Regions from separate parts of the Homo sapiens genome. Here region 2 is linked to region 1. The links are contacts of gene promoters, found by promoter capture Hi-C in blood cells and fetal thymus (Javierre and others, 2016). All regions are on one chromosome and are shown on one strand. The core of a region is centred on a gene start or on the middle of the fragment in contact, and the rest is flanking DNA. Distances in the headings are between cores, read along the strand shown.

Region 1 (7,051 bases), core at 2,035-4,534:
CCCAAAGATTTTTTTTTTTTTTGAGACGAAGCCTCACTCTGTCGCCCAGGCTGTAGTGCAGTGGCTGGATCTTGGCTCACTGCAAGTTCTGCCTCCTGGGTTCAAGCGATTCTCCTGCCTCAGACTCCCGAGTAGCTGGGACTACAGGCGCGTGCCACAACAACACCCGGCTAATTTTTGTATTTTTAGTAGAGATGGGATTTCACCACATTGGCCAGGTTGGTCTTGAACTCCTGACCTCAAGTGATCCGCCTGCCTTCACCTCCCAAAGTGCTGGGATTACAGGCGTGAACCATCGTACCCGACCCAGAGATTTTTAACTCGACCACTCACTCCCCACCTCATCTAGGGACTGGATTCTTGCCGGAAGGGTGGAGTGTGGGACAGGGCAGCCAGGGCTCTGAACCGACTTTCTTCTCCCAGACTCCCTTGGCCCCACTGCATCAGCCTTACTTCCTGTTGACGTCAGATAGGCCCTAGTTAGAATGCGAGTGTCACAGACACAGCTAAGCTCAGCGCTGACCAATACTTTGTCCCAGAAGAATTCCCACAAGGTTTCCTGTAGAATGATCTTGTGCCTAGCCCAGGAGAGCCAGGGTTCTCCCTGACTCCGCCCTGGAGTCCCCTTAAGCACTTAAACCATCTGATGGGGACAAATGGAGAGGACAGATGAGGGAGCAGGGTGGAGCGTTTTAGCAGAATGCTCCTTACCCAGAACCCGCTGCTATTCTGCAGCCAGCAAGGATGTGGGGCTAAGAACTAAGGCCAGGGCCTTACAGGAAAAAGGTAAAGGGGGAGGGGTGGGAATTTAAGCTCATTTTCTTCCCCAAGTATCCAAAGGTCTCCTGGATGGAGAAGAGCACTGGAGTAAAAACCCCAGTACAAACCTTACTGGGGACAGTGGGCAACCTTGTCGGGTTAGTAAAAACAAATGGTGTGGGCCCTGGAAAATGAGGGCTGGAGGCTGTGAATAAAGCAGTGGATGTGTTTGTTCAGTACACCAACGGGAAGAAGTACCCAGATGGGAGGAGTACTAGGGGCAGGAGAAATGCCAGACAGACTCTAGTGCCAGGGCAAGAAGGAAGATCATTTTGTTTGCAGAACAGGGAGGGCACAGGGATGGTGCTAACTTGTTCTTGTGATGGCTCTGAGCTCCTACCTAACAATGAGAAAGCTTGCTCCTTCTTCCCTTCCTGGATGACCCAGGAGCCCTGGGCTGGGATGCAGTGACCTCATTTCCAGCCCCTTCCCTTCTGGTGATGAACCTCCCTATCTTCACTCAGAAAACAGACTTGGATTAGAGGCACTGCACAGCCCTTCCAGGATTCTAAAGGAGGAAGAGTTTCTTTTTCTGTTTCCAAAGCTGCCTGCTGGAAGAGGATTTCAACAGCCATCCCAGTCGGATGCACAGCAGGACCATGGAATTTCCCTTCTGCACCATAGGGACCCACCCTCCACTCTACCACTGTCCATAAAAACTGATGGTTTTTTTTTTGAGACAGAGTCTCGCTCTGTTTTCCAGGCTGGAGTGCAGTGGTGCGATCTTGGCTCATTGCAATCTCTGCCTCCTGGGTTCAAGCAATTCTCTGCTTCAGCCTCCCAAGTAGCTGGGATTACAGGTGCCTGCCACCACAACTGGCTAATTTTTTGTATTTTTAGTCGAGACGGGGTTTCACCATTTTGGCCAGGCTGGTCTTGAACTCCTGACCTCATGATCCACCCACCTCGGCTTTCCAAAGTGCTGGGATTAAAGGTGTGAGCCACTGCACCTGGCCTAAAACTGATGTTTTTTTCTTTTTTTTTAACATATAACTTGGGACTTCTCAGCCTCCTATTCTTTCTTTTTTTTTTTTTTTTTTTTTGAGACAGAGTCTTGCTCTCTCATCCAGGCTGGAATGCAGTGGCCCAGTCTCGACTCACTGCAACCTCTGTCTTCTGGGTTCAAGTGATACTCCTGCCTCAGCCTCCCCAGTAGCTGGGATTACAGGCACACACCACCATGGCCAGATAATTTTTTTGTATTTTCAGTACAGACGGGGTTTTGCTATGTTGGCCTGGCAGGTCTCGAACTCTTGGCCTCAAGTGATCTGCCTGCCTTGGCCTCCCAAAATGCTGAGATTACAGGCATGAGTCACCAAGCCCAGCCTTCTTTCTTTTTTTTGAGACAGAGCCTCACCCTGTCACCCAGGTTGGAGTGCAGTGGCACGATCTTGGCTCACTGCAACCTTTGCCTCCCGGTTGAAGTGATTCAGTCTCCCAAGTAGCTGGGACTACAGTCACACACCACCATGCCCGGCTAATTTTTGTATGTTTAGTAGAGATAGGGTTTCACCATGTTGGCCAGGCTGACCTCGAATTCCTGATTGCAAATGATCCACCTGCCTTGGCCTCCCAAAGCATTGGCATTAGAGGTGTGAGCCACCGTACTTGGCTTCCTTTTCTATTTTTGAGACAGAGTCTCACTCTGTCACTCAGGCTGGAGTGCAGTGGCACGATCTTGGCTCACTGCAACCTCTGCCTCCCAGGTTCAAGTGATCCTTCTGCCTCACCCTCCCAAGTAGCTGGGATTACAGGTGTGCACCTCCGTGGCTAGCCCTCCTTTTCAATTGGTTAGTGTCTTGTGGTTTTCCCACCTTTCCACAGTGGAAAATGGCTCAGGACTGACTGACATGAAGACAAGCCCAGGGGTCTACACTCAACTCAACCCTTGCACCCAAGCTCTGGGCTAAGATTTTGGCGTGCTGAGCACCACCCATTTTGTAAGGAATTTTGTAAAATTTTATCTGAAGCATCACTCACAACTCCACTTTCTTTACTTAAATAAGGATTTCCGCCCCATTTCTGCCAGGCATACTGAGCTTCACAGTCCCTGTTTCTTTTTCCTGGTGCCTAGGCCTGGTTCTCTGAGCCTGGTGGTCACACCAATGGCATCTGGCACACAGTTCTCCGATAATGGGGATACCTAGGAGGTTCCGAGACACCTTACAGTCCTGGGTTAGTAACCTGGATCTCTTTTTCCACCTCTTTAGGCATTTTATAATCTAGCTTTCCCCCTTCCTGTGGGTAAAGTGCTCCTGAATGCTTATGGTCCAAAACAAGACTTCTTTCCTATCTATTCCCAAATCTTTCTCCAGATCCACCCTAGAGGAAGGGAACAGAATCTTCCACATTCCAGCAGCTGGTGACAGGCCAGAACAGGGAAGAGGTGAGGGCTCAGCTGGCTCCATACAGGAGTGCAGATGGAGGAGCAGGATCTCTCTCTGCCTCTCAAGTTTTCCTAAACATACTTCTCAATTCCTGGCGAGGACTCTTCCCTCTCCACATCCTCCCCTAGTCTCCCCAAGGAGGGAGCAGGAGCATTCGAACGCGGAAATCGAGGTGCTAGTCCAAACTGCTCGGTCGGCTTTAGTCATAGCTGGATAATGCCCGGCTCAGGTCTACCACAAGCCATACAGCTGCTTTTTCCGTGTTCAACCTGTCTGTGACAGAAACCAAGGGGGCCCCGGCACCCAGCATCTAGGCGGTGGAATCGGGGTCTTACGCACGGTTCCGCGGGCAGGTCCCCGGCCAGGACCCGCGGGGAGCCACGTAGCCAGGAGGGTGGGGCTGCCCACCGACCCAGGACGCGGCAACGGACCGGGGAGGGCGGAGCTCCAGCGACCGCTTCCCCTCCCGCCCGCCGGCACCCCCTGGCTCCCACCTGGTCCCGGCGCGGCCTGCGAGCTAGCGAGGTTCGCGCGGTGAAGTACTGCTCGAGCTCCGAGTCCGAGTCCTCTTGGCTGCAGTAGCCACTGCTCGTCGTGCTGCTCCAGGTCATTTCGAAAGAAGGCGCCTCCGCCTCGCCCATAGCCGTACCCGCCCGTCCCCCAGTCCTGCGCGTCCGTAGCCGCCAACCACCGCCCCGGTCGCGTGCGTGCGTGTACGCGTGTCAGTGTGCGCGTGCGCCCGGGCCAGAGCCGCGCCGCAACCGTTAAGACTGAAACGTAGATCGCCGGGATCTAGCTCTTGTCTCATTGGGGCAGGAACGCCGGGGCGGGGACACGCACGCTTCGCCCCCAGGAATGACCTCATCGCTCCGGAGCTCCACTCACAGACCCCACCTACCACAGGGAACGGGGGCGGGTGCCAGCGTCCGGGCAAGCGCACAAGAGTGGCCTCTGGCCGGAGGCGAGGGCGGGAAGGTGCGGGAAGTGCGCGTGCGCGGAGCCTGGGTCAGCCTGGGCCCGGGTCCGCTTGCAGCGGGTGGAGTACTTGCGGAGCCGGCAATCCAGGCTCCCCTCCCAGCCCCCGCGCAGAATTAGCCTCTCTGTGCCGCCGGGAAATCGGCAATTAGAACGCTCCTTGCGCGCGGCACCCAGGCAGCCCTCGAGAATGCCTGCACTGTGGCCTGCCCATCCTCGCCCTTCCCATACGCCCTCGGCCCCGCGCTCACCACGTTCGTGTCCCGCTCCACCGCGGGTTCCCAGCCCAGGTCCCGGGGCCCGCAACAGTCCAGGCAGACGAGCGCGCGGCAGCGGTAGTGGCAGGTGAACTTGCAATCTGCAGAGAGGCCTGGCGGTGAGGCGGAGGAGCTCCAGGTCGGGGAAATGTCCCGGAGATTGAAGGGAAGCCCCAGGGAGAGGGCCGCTGCTCGCCAGGCTCCGCAGGCCCGACCTATCTCAGTGGGTTACCTCACACTGCTACGCGGACTCTAATGTTGGCCACCTGGGCGTCTGGAAACCGGCCGGAAGGCCACAGGCAGAGAGGCCTGCTCAACAGTTGGATCTCTATCGCCTAGCACAGAACTTCCCCTTTCCTCATTGGCAATTAAAAAAACAACAACAAAAAACTGCGTCTTGCTTTTGTCACCCAGGCTGGAGTGCAATGGCGCGATTTCGGCTCACCGCAACCTCCGCCTCCTGGGTTCAAGCGATTCTTCTGCCTCAGCCTCCTGAGTACCTAGGATTACAGGCGCCCGCCACCATGCCCAGCTAATTTTTGTATTTTTAGTAGAGACGGGGTTTCACCATGTTAGCCAGGCTGGTCTCAAACTCCTGATCTCAGGTGATCCACCCGCCTCGGCCTTCCAAAGTGCTGGGACTACAGGCTTGAGCCACCGCACCCGGCCCTTCACTGGGAACGTATATGGAATACATCTGCCCATTTACTTGAAGGAAAAACTAAACACCTTTAACCTACGTCTGCCCTGTGGTTGTCACCTGTCTCTACTCCCCTCAGACCAAGACACTGGTCTCTATACACTCTAATCCTTCGCCTTCACTCTCCCCTCTACCCACTCCAGCCAGGCTTGCCTCTTCCTCCAGGAAACTGCCCGGGACAGGGTCCTCAGCGATCTGTGTACTACCAAATGGAATCCAGTGTTCCATTCTCCATTCTCACCCCCTCAGCATCATTTGAAGCTTGCTCCCTTTGACTCCCAGGGGCTACACTCTCCCAGTTTTCCTCCTACCCCCTGCAGCTCCTGCTCAGCTCCTTTGCAGATTCTGACTCAACTTCCATATCTCACGATGAAGTCTGGGCTCAGTCCTGATCACTGGCCTGGTCTGTCTACATTCATCTGCCCCAGATCCACGGCTGAAACACTGACCTAAACCCTCAGACTAGATCCTCCGTGCCAGTACCTTCACTAGGATGTCTAAAAGACGTTTCAAGTGAACATGGCCAAAATTTAATTCCCTTTTCTTCAGCCTCACTGCTACACTTGCCCAGCTTCCTCTTTGCAGCAAAAATGGCCACTAGGCTCCCAGTTACTGGAGACAAAAGCCCAAACTTATCTTTGATTTCTCCCTTGTCTCTACCTCTGATAAACATGCCCAAATCATCCTGCTTCTTATCTCCATGGCTACTTTATTTCTCTTTGAGAACGCTGCAATGTCCCAGCCTTGTTCTTTTTTTTTTTTTTTTTTTTTTTGAGACAGAGTCTCACTCTGTCGCCAAGGCTGGAGGGCAGTGGCACGATCTCGGCTCACTGCAACCTCCGCCTCCTGTGTTCAAGCAATTCTCCCACCTCAGCCTCCCGAGTAGCTGGGATTACAGGCACCCGCCACTACGCCTGGCTCATTTTTTTTTATTTTTTAGTAGACATGAGGTTTCACCATGTTGGCCAGGCTGGTCTTGAACTCCTGACCTCAGGTGATCCACCCGCCTCCGCCTTCCGAAGTGCTGGGATTACAGGCATGAGCCACCGCGCTCGGCCCCTTGTTCATTCTTTGCATTCTGTCACAACTTTGTGCTCCCCCCAGCTGAATTTGTGATGTCCTCTTGTACCGGATGAGAGGGTCTCCATGCACACACAGACCTGGGACACTATCCATCCACAAGTTCCTAAATAGGCCAGAGCAGTGATGCTCAACCCAGACTCCATGTTACAATAATTTGGGGAGTTTTTAAAATTTACTGATGCCTAGGGTCCACTCCCAGCAGTTGATTCAACAGGTCTGCGGTGGGATCCAGGCTAGCGGGGAGGACTGTAAAAGCACCCCTGGTGATTCCAGCTGGTGTCTACCCAGGGGAGAGCAACCTTTGCTTGCTGGCGATTCCCAGGGGTGCAGAAGGACTGCTGGGTGTGTGGCTGCGTGCATATTTTAGCATCTGATTCACTGGGTCAGAAAAGGGTGTTTGCTAAATAAAGACTCAACAAAACTCCTGCTTGCAGGGGGCCCACCAAAGGTTCTAAATTTTTCCAGGCTCCCTCCCATAGGTGGTAATTTCCCTTCACCCTAAAGGTTCTGGAGGGGGTCATGAGTGTTTGAGAAGAGGCAAGCCTGGGAAGATGGACTCCGAGGACAGTAGGCACAAACCCTTTCTCAAGAAGGGCCAAGGCATTTTAAAGATAAGAAACTTAAAATCAGCGTATTTTTACATATAAGCAGCCACCTCTGCTCATCTGTGGCCCAGATACGAGTGGAGTGCGACAAGGGATAAACCATTTTCGCGCACTCTTCAGCGATGGGGCGAAAGTAACGGACCTAGTCCTCGGGAGCTGTCCCCGCCGACCCCCTCTGCCGCGACTTGACCCGCGGCGACTGCGCTGCCCCTTGGCTGCCCCTTC
Region 2 (7,040 bases), core at 2,972-5,471, 2.0 Mb after region 1:
TGCCTAGAGTCTCAGGGCCAAGGCCACTGTCTCTAAAACTACAGCACTGTTTCCTAAGGCTTAAAAACTCCCAAACAATCCAACATACACAGCTTTAGTGGCCTCTCATCAGTGCTTGCCTAGAGTCATGCTGAACTGCTTCCTAGTGTTTTGTTTTACTCTCCCCAACTCCTCCTTCCAAGAAAAATAGCTTTAAGATGTTTTATTTTTTTTAATTTTTTTTTTTTTTTTTTTGAGACAGAGTCTCACTCTGTCACCCAGGCTGGAGTGCAGTGGTGTGATCTCAGCTCACTGCAACCTCTACCTCCTGGGTTCAAGCAATTCTCCCACCTCAGCCTTCCGAGTAGCTGGAATTATAGGTGCGTGACACCACATCCGGCTAATTTGTTGTTGTTGTTGTTGTTGTTGTTGTTGTTGTATTTTTAGTAGAAACGGGGTTTTGCCATGTTGGCCAGGCTGGTCTCAAACTCCTGACCTCAAGTGATCCGCTCACCTCGGCCTCCCAGTTTTAAGGTGTTGTACAGCCCTTACATAGGACACAGCTCCACTTTACCCTGCCTCCAACACAGCTGACCTTCCCTCCCACGGAGTAACCCTGCAAGCCCAGGCTGGGCACAGTGGCTTACACCTATAGTCCCAGCACTTTCAGAGGCTGGGGCAGGAGAACTGCTTGAGCCCAGGAGTTTGAGACCAGCTTGGGCAACAAAGCAAGACCCTGTCTCCACAAAAAATTAGCCAGGCATGGTGGTGTGCACCTGTAGTCCCAGCTACTTGAGAGGCTGAGGCAGGAGGATCGCTACAACCCAGGAGGTTGAGGCTATAGTGAGCTGTAATCACCACTGTCCTCCAGCCTGGGCGACAGTGTGAGACTTTGTCTCCTAAAAACAAAAAAAAATTAAAATTAAAAGTACCACTTCTTACCTATCCCAGCAGCTACAGCATTCGGCCCACACAGAAGGCACTCAGGAAATGTCTTGAATTATGTCTGAGGAAGGAATAAATGCATGGAAGGAATATAGCTGACTATAACCAAGAAAAAACAATAAAATTTTCAGTATTTACAACCTCTCCCACATTAAAGAGGGCAATTCCACCTACGGATGCCTTTGTTTTGATGATGTGGTGGGAAATCATTTAGGAGAAGGAATACAAAGTCTCATATTTTAAAAGGAAAAATCCAGGGAGAAGGACGGGTGTGGTGGCTCACACCTGTAATCCCAGCACTTTGGGAGACAGAGGCAGGAAGATGGTTTGAGCGCAGAAGTTTGAGACCAGCCTGGCCAACATGGCAAAACCACTTCTCTACAAAAAATACAAAAAATTAGCTGGGTGTGGTGGTGCACGTCTGTGGTCCCAGCTACTTGGGAGACTGAAGTGGGAGGATCACTTGAGCCTCGGAGGTGGAGGTTGCAATAATCCAAGATGATGGCACTGAACTCCAACCTGGGTGACAGAGTGAGATCCTGTCTCAAATAAAAATATATGTATATATAAGAAAAAGAAAAATCCAGGGAGAGAGCTGGAAGTGGGGGCCAGAGGAAGGGAAAGGTTCATGACAAGAGCACAGCATGGTTTGGAGACCTAAGGAGAGATGTAGCAACTGCCAAAGGGAGCAGGTAGGGGGTGTGAAAAGAAAATAAAATTTTAGGACATTCCCAATTTATAATGTGAAGGAGAAAAGTGAAGCCCTGGAAACTGAGCAGGCATTGCTTTTTTTTTTTCTTCTCTGATGCATGACTGCTGCTTCCTGATCTTTGTATTGAAATGTTATACATTAACCAGGCTCCCTATTCTTCATTCAGACTTAGACTAGATGATGTGGGAGATAGAGACCCTTGTGATTGTTGTCTCTTTACAATAGAATGTTAAGCAAACTCCTTCCAGTATAATCAATAGTAGCCAACCAAATCTTGTATTTATGTTAGCCTTTTTTTGGAAAATGTTGTAATTCTGGTCAGCACTCCTGTTTTTGCCTATATAAACAATCTTTTTTTTTTTTTTTTTTGAGACGGAGTCTCGCTTTGTCACCCAGGCTGGAGGGCAGTCACGCAATCTCGGTTCACTGCAACCTCCCAGGTTCAAGCAATCCTCCTGCCTCAGCCCCACCAGTAGCTGGGATTACAGGCACACACCACCATGCCTAGCTAATTTTTGTATTTTTAGTAGAGACGGGGTTTCGCCATGTTGGCCAGGCTGGTCTTGAACTCCTGACCTCAGGTGATCCACCTGCCTCAGCCTCCCAAAGTGCTAGGATTACAGGTGTGAGCCACTGTGCCCGGCCCATGCCCAGCTAATTTTTGTATTTTTTAGTAGAGATGGGGTTTCACCATATTGGTTAGGCCAGTCTCGAACTCCTGACCTCAAATGATCCCACCTGCCTCAGCCTCCCAAAGTACTGGGATTGCAGGCATGAGCCACTGCACCTGTCCCAAAAACACATTTCTAATGTCAACCTAAAAATCATCAAAAGGTTCGATATCCAGTTAAAAGAATTTATTCAAGCATAAAGTGTGAGGGCAGCCATCCAGGGAAACACAGACACCAAGCAGTGGCAATTAGTGTTCTCCAGCATGGGGAAAGATGAAGGTTGTTTATATAGGCCGGGCGCCTGTAATTGTTTATACGCCTGTAATCCCTGCACTTTGGGAGGCCAAGGGCGGTGGATCACAAGGTCAGGAGTTCGAGACCAGCCTGGCCAACATGGTGAAACTCTGTCTCTACTAAAAATACAAAAATTAGCTGGACGTGGTGGCGGGCGCCTGTAGTCCCAGCTATTCGGGAGGCTGAGGCAGGAGAATTGCTTGAACCTGGGAGGCGGAGGTTGCAGTGAGCCGACATCGTGCCCAGGCTGCAGTGCAGTGGCCGTGAGCTGAGACTGTGCCATTGCAGTCCAGCCTGGGTGACAGAGCAAGACTCCACCTCAAAACCAAGAGAAAGAAATGTGTTTTTGTTTGTTGGTTTTTTTTTGAGACAGGGGCCCAGGTTGGAGTGCAGTGGCGTGATCAAGGTTCACTGCAGCCTCTACCTCCCAGGCTCAGGTGATCCTCCCATCTCAGCCTCCTGAGTAGCTGGGACTACAGGAGCATGCCACCACACCTGGCTCTTTTTTTTTTGGTAGAGATAAGTTTCGCCATGTTCCCAGGCTGGTCTCGCATTCCTAGGCTCAAGCGATCCGCCCACCTTGGCCTCCCCAATGTTGGGATTACAGGCGTGAAACACTGCGCCCTGCCAAGAAACATGTTTCAATAAAATTGTTAGGAAATCAAGTGTGTGATTTGTGATGCAACTCTCTCCTCTATCTCCCTAAGAAAACATCAGTAAAAACAGTGAACTGTTTTGTATTTTTGGAGTCTGATCAGGACTCATCTTATGAATGTGGGAAGGCATCCAGCCAACACAGGGTAGGCCCCGGATGAGAGTAGGGACAGCGAGGTAGGCCCAGAGTCATTAGCGTTTACATGCCGCTTATGTGCTTGAGGATCGCAGAATGGAACTCTTGCTAAGCCAGAGCTGTATTTGGTGGCCCATGGTGGGAGAGGGAAGAACAATAATAAGTTGTGGAATAAAAGCCATGGAGAGGAGCGGGAATTACTTAATCTGGCTCCAGAAGGGGTGAGTTGTGGGGAAGTAGTGATTCTCAGTTCGTTTGCTCAGCCCAGTCAGTGCCTGACACTCAGGGTGCATCTGCTGACTGACCGTACAGGATAAAGGAAGGGAGAGGCCGGGTGCGGCGGCTGAAGTCTGTAATCCCATCACTTTCGGAGGCTGAGGTGGGTGGATCGCTTGAGGTTAGGCGTTCGAGACCAGCCTGGGCAACATGGCGAAAGCCCGTCTCTACTAAAAAATACAAAAATTAGCCCGGAGTGGTGGCACATGCCTGTAATCCCAGCTACTCGGGAGGCTGAGGCATGAGAATCGCTTGAATCCGGGAGGCGGAGGTTGCATTGGGCCGAAACCGCGACTCTGCACTCCAGTCTGGGCGACAGAATGAGACCCCGTCTCAAAAAAAAAATCGGCAATCGGTGAGGCGGGGATTATTACCCTCAATGTAGAGATTTAAAAAATGAGGACTGAAGGTGACTCCTTCCAGGTCTGTCAGTGGCCAGCAAAGAGCCAATATGCTAAACTCTCCCCTCCCGGACACCGGCTTCAGCCAGAGCTCGCACCCGCCTGCGCCGCTCCACCCACCCACACTTCCGGCTTCCGCTCCGCCCACCCCCTAGTACTTCCGTTCTCCAGCGCTGGGCACCGCGGCCGGAGCTGTGGGCTGGTAAGTCTGCGCCGCCAGGGCTCGCATGGCCTTCAGAAGCGGTCCCTGGGCTGGGCGATGACGGGTCCTGGTGGCAGCAGGCCCTTCTTTCTCGCATCACCGGGCATTACGCGGCAGCCATTTCCCTCGCTAAGGCCCTACCTTAGGATGACGTCACTTCCGGCCCCCTACTGTCTAGGGAAAGCCGGAAATGGTACCAGCCTTCTTTGATGGCGGGGAGGAGTCAAGACCGGTAGTCTTCCTATTTCCGTTGTTTTGCTCTGGAGCCTCCCGGAGTTTCGGAGAGACCGTGTCTTGGATAGAATTGGAGGACTTAGCAAATAAAAATGCAAAGCGTCCAGTTACATTTTTTTTGAGTTAGAATCTCACTCTGTCACCCAGGCTGGAGTGCAGTGGCGCGATCTCGGCTCACTGCAACCTCCGCCTCCCCTGTTCAAATGATTCTCATGCCTCAGTCTCCCGAGTAGCTGGGATTACGGGCGCCCACCACACCCGGCTAATTTTTGTATTTTTAGAAGAGACGGGGTTTCACCACGTTGGTCAGGCTGGTCTCGAACTCCTGACCTCAGGTGATGCGCCCGCCTCAGCCTTCCAAAGTGCTGGGATTACAGGCGTGAGCCACTGCGCCGGGCCACGTCCAGTTAAATTTGAGTTAAGATAAACGACGAATAATTGTTAAGTCCTAAACATTGTATGCACATACTTATACTTTAAAAATTACTTGTTTATTTGAAATTCAAATTTAACCGGAAGTCCTGTATTTTCTCTGGCAGCCTTAGCATTGAGCGTCCCCCTGTCCTGTGCTCATACCCAGTGGCAAGGCTGGGATCTTCTAGGCTCTTGTCCATCTGGGAAATAGATACAAATTTCATCCAGGCTATAAAGACCGGCTGTCTTAGTTGCTAAGATGCTTTTAGCTCCAAGTCCAATGGGCAAGCTCCAGGGGTCCCCCTGGCCAAAACTGGACCCATTTTCGGAATCCCCATGACGATGCCCTCTGTGTTCCCTTTCACAACAGAAGTCAGGCATGGCTGTCTTTTCTTACCGGAGAGCTGAGAACTAGGCAAGCAAAATGGTCAAAGTCTAGAAGTAACCACCATATTTGGGTGTGGGGTAAACCGGTGTTTGAGATCTGTGTTGCAGTGGACAGTATCAGAGAGCCTGAGGTTGTTAAGGGAAGAGCGTAGTGTTAATCTCACCCCATGTCTCATTTTGCGGATGAGGCCCAGTGAGAGAAATGGAGGTGTCCCAGCCACTCAGAAAGCCTATAGTAGAGCTGGAACCTCAATTCCCAGCCTCCTTACCCTGCTCAGTCCATACTTGCTGATGAAGTCAGCTTGCAACATTTATGGTAGGCATTTATTAAAGTAGATGCAATAGTACATATGTAGTACAGATGAGCTGTTTGGGTCTTTGTTGTTCCTATACCCCTCTACAGCTTCCTGACCTTCGCCCCAAGGCTTCTTTAGCTTTTACTCTGCCCAGTGGGGAAAATGGCTATGGGCTCAGTTATGGGAGCCTGGCCTTTGCCTACTTCAGCCCTTGGGCTCTCACCACTGTGGGTGGTGTGACCTAGGACTTGTTTTTGTTATCTTGGAACCAGAAGGCGTGTTCTTGGCAGGGTTGGGTCTGGCCAACTGTGTGGGTAGAAGGGCATCCTTTTCTGTCCTGCAATTGGGCTTCATGGCACATGGCCTCACATGGTGCCTGGGGACTTTTCTAAGGTTCCACCATGAGCCAGACTTTGCCCTCACTCCTGATTTGAACCTAAACCTCTTGCTGAACTGGTCCTGCATACTGAGATTCCTCAGATTGCTTGCCCTGAGGATGTGTTCTGGGTTTGACCTGATAAACCTGCAGCCTCCTATAGACCCTGACTTCCCAGGCTCCTAATCCCAGTCTCATGAGATAATGAAATAGAGAAGACTGGAGGTCAATGGGCTCAGGGTCAGTTGGTGGGACAATCAACAGCTTCCTGGCAGCAGAGGTGGTAAAGAGGCAAGGAAGGAGTGCCAGAAAGGGGCGTTGCCCCAGGGTAACAGCGCAGAAGTGCAGGGGGTGGAAAAGGGGTGGGATGGGAGCCCACTGGTAGAAATTACTCCCTCTGTCAATGATTAACTCCCAGCCAAAGGGGTGACCTGGGAGGAGGGCCCAGCTAATAGGAACTTTGGACTTGAGGCAGAGTATCCAGAGGGCCGGCATGTGGTCTGCAGAAGAGGAGGACGTGGCTGGGTGGCAGGGCTGGTCTCCAAGGACGAGTAAGATCCTGCAGCTGCAGGCTTCAGGAAGTCTCCTGGGGCTATCAGATGGCTCCTTCTTGTAGCAGCAGCTGTGGGGTCCACTGGCCCTGAGCCCTCAGAGGGGCGGCCGTGGGGGACCTCCTGTCTTTTGCCTTGCAAGGGCCTCAGTTGTGCTTTTTCCCTCTAGGCAGCCATGGGTGCCAGGCAGTGCTGAGAGCAGTGGGGCATGGCTGCAGCCCTGCAGGTCCTGCCCCGCTTGGCCCGAGCCCCCTTGCATCCACTCCTCTGGCGGGGCTCAGTGGCCCGTCTGGCCAGCAGCATGGCCTTGGCAGAGCAGGCCAGGCAGCTGTTTGAGAGTGCTGTAGGTGCAGTGCTGCCGGGCCCCATGCTGCACCGGGCACTATCCTTGGACCCTGGTGGCAGACAGCTGAAGGTGCGGGACCGGAACTTTCAGCTGAGGCAAAACCTCTACCTGGTGGGCTTTGGCAAGGCTGTGCTGGGTATGGCAGCTGCAGCTGAGGAACTACTGG

The links. Contacts are between HindIII fragments. The CHiCAGO score rates a contact against its expected background, and 5 or more counts as called.
Region 2: a contact is called between the fragment with the promoter of GLYCTK here and a fragment that was not itself captured in region 1, in 1 of 17 cell types (non-activated CD4 T cells). The highest score is 5.8, in non-activated CD4 T cells.

The regions. Positions count from the first base shown.
Region 1 is chr3:50,333,473-50,340,523 of GRCh38, forward strand. RASSF1 (Ras association domain family member 1) reads right to left here. Exons shown (of 6, transcript NM_007182.5): 2 at 4,433-4,539. It overlaps RASSF1-AS1 (RASSF1 antisense RNA 1), which reads left to right and starts at 4,039. Exons shown (of 1, transcript NR_109831.1): 1 at 4,039-4,828. RefSeq lists silencers at 3,443-3,752, 3,823-4,002 and enhancers at 4,074-4,645, 4,473-4,732, 4,813-4,902, 6,469-7,051. The HindIII fragment of the contact is 4,225 bases long and covers 1,173-5,397 here.
Region 2 is chr3:52,283,607-52,290,646 of GRCh38, forward strand. It overlaps GLYCTK (glycerate kinase), which reads left to right and starts at 4,222. Exons shown (of 5, transcript NM_145262.4): 1 at 4,222-4,270; 2 at 6,698-7,040. The coding sequence starts at 6,737. It overlaps GLYCTK-AS1 (GLYCTK antisense RNA 1), which reads right to left and starts at 6,127. Exons shown (of 1, transcript NR_046719.1): 1 at 4,974-6,127. LOC107986086 (a long non-coding RNA gene) reads right to left here and starts at 4,414. Exons shown (of 3, transcript XR_001740699.2): 1 at 4,227-4,414; 2 at 922-985. RefSeq lists enhancers at 3,807-4,548, 3,854-5,053, 3,880-3,989, 6,793-7,040. The HindIII fragment of the contact is 11,873 bases long and covers 1-7,040 here.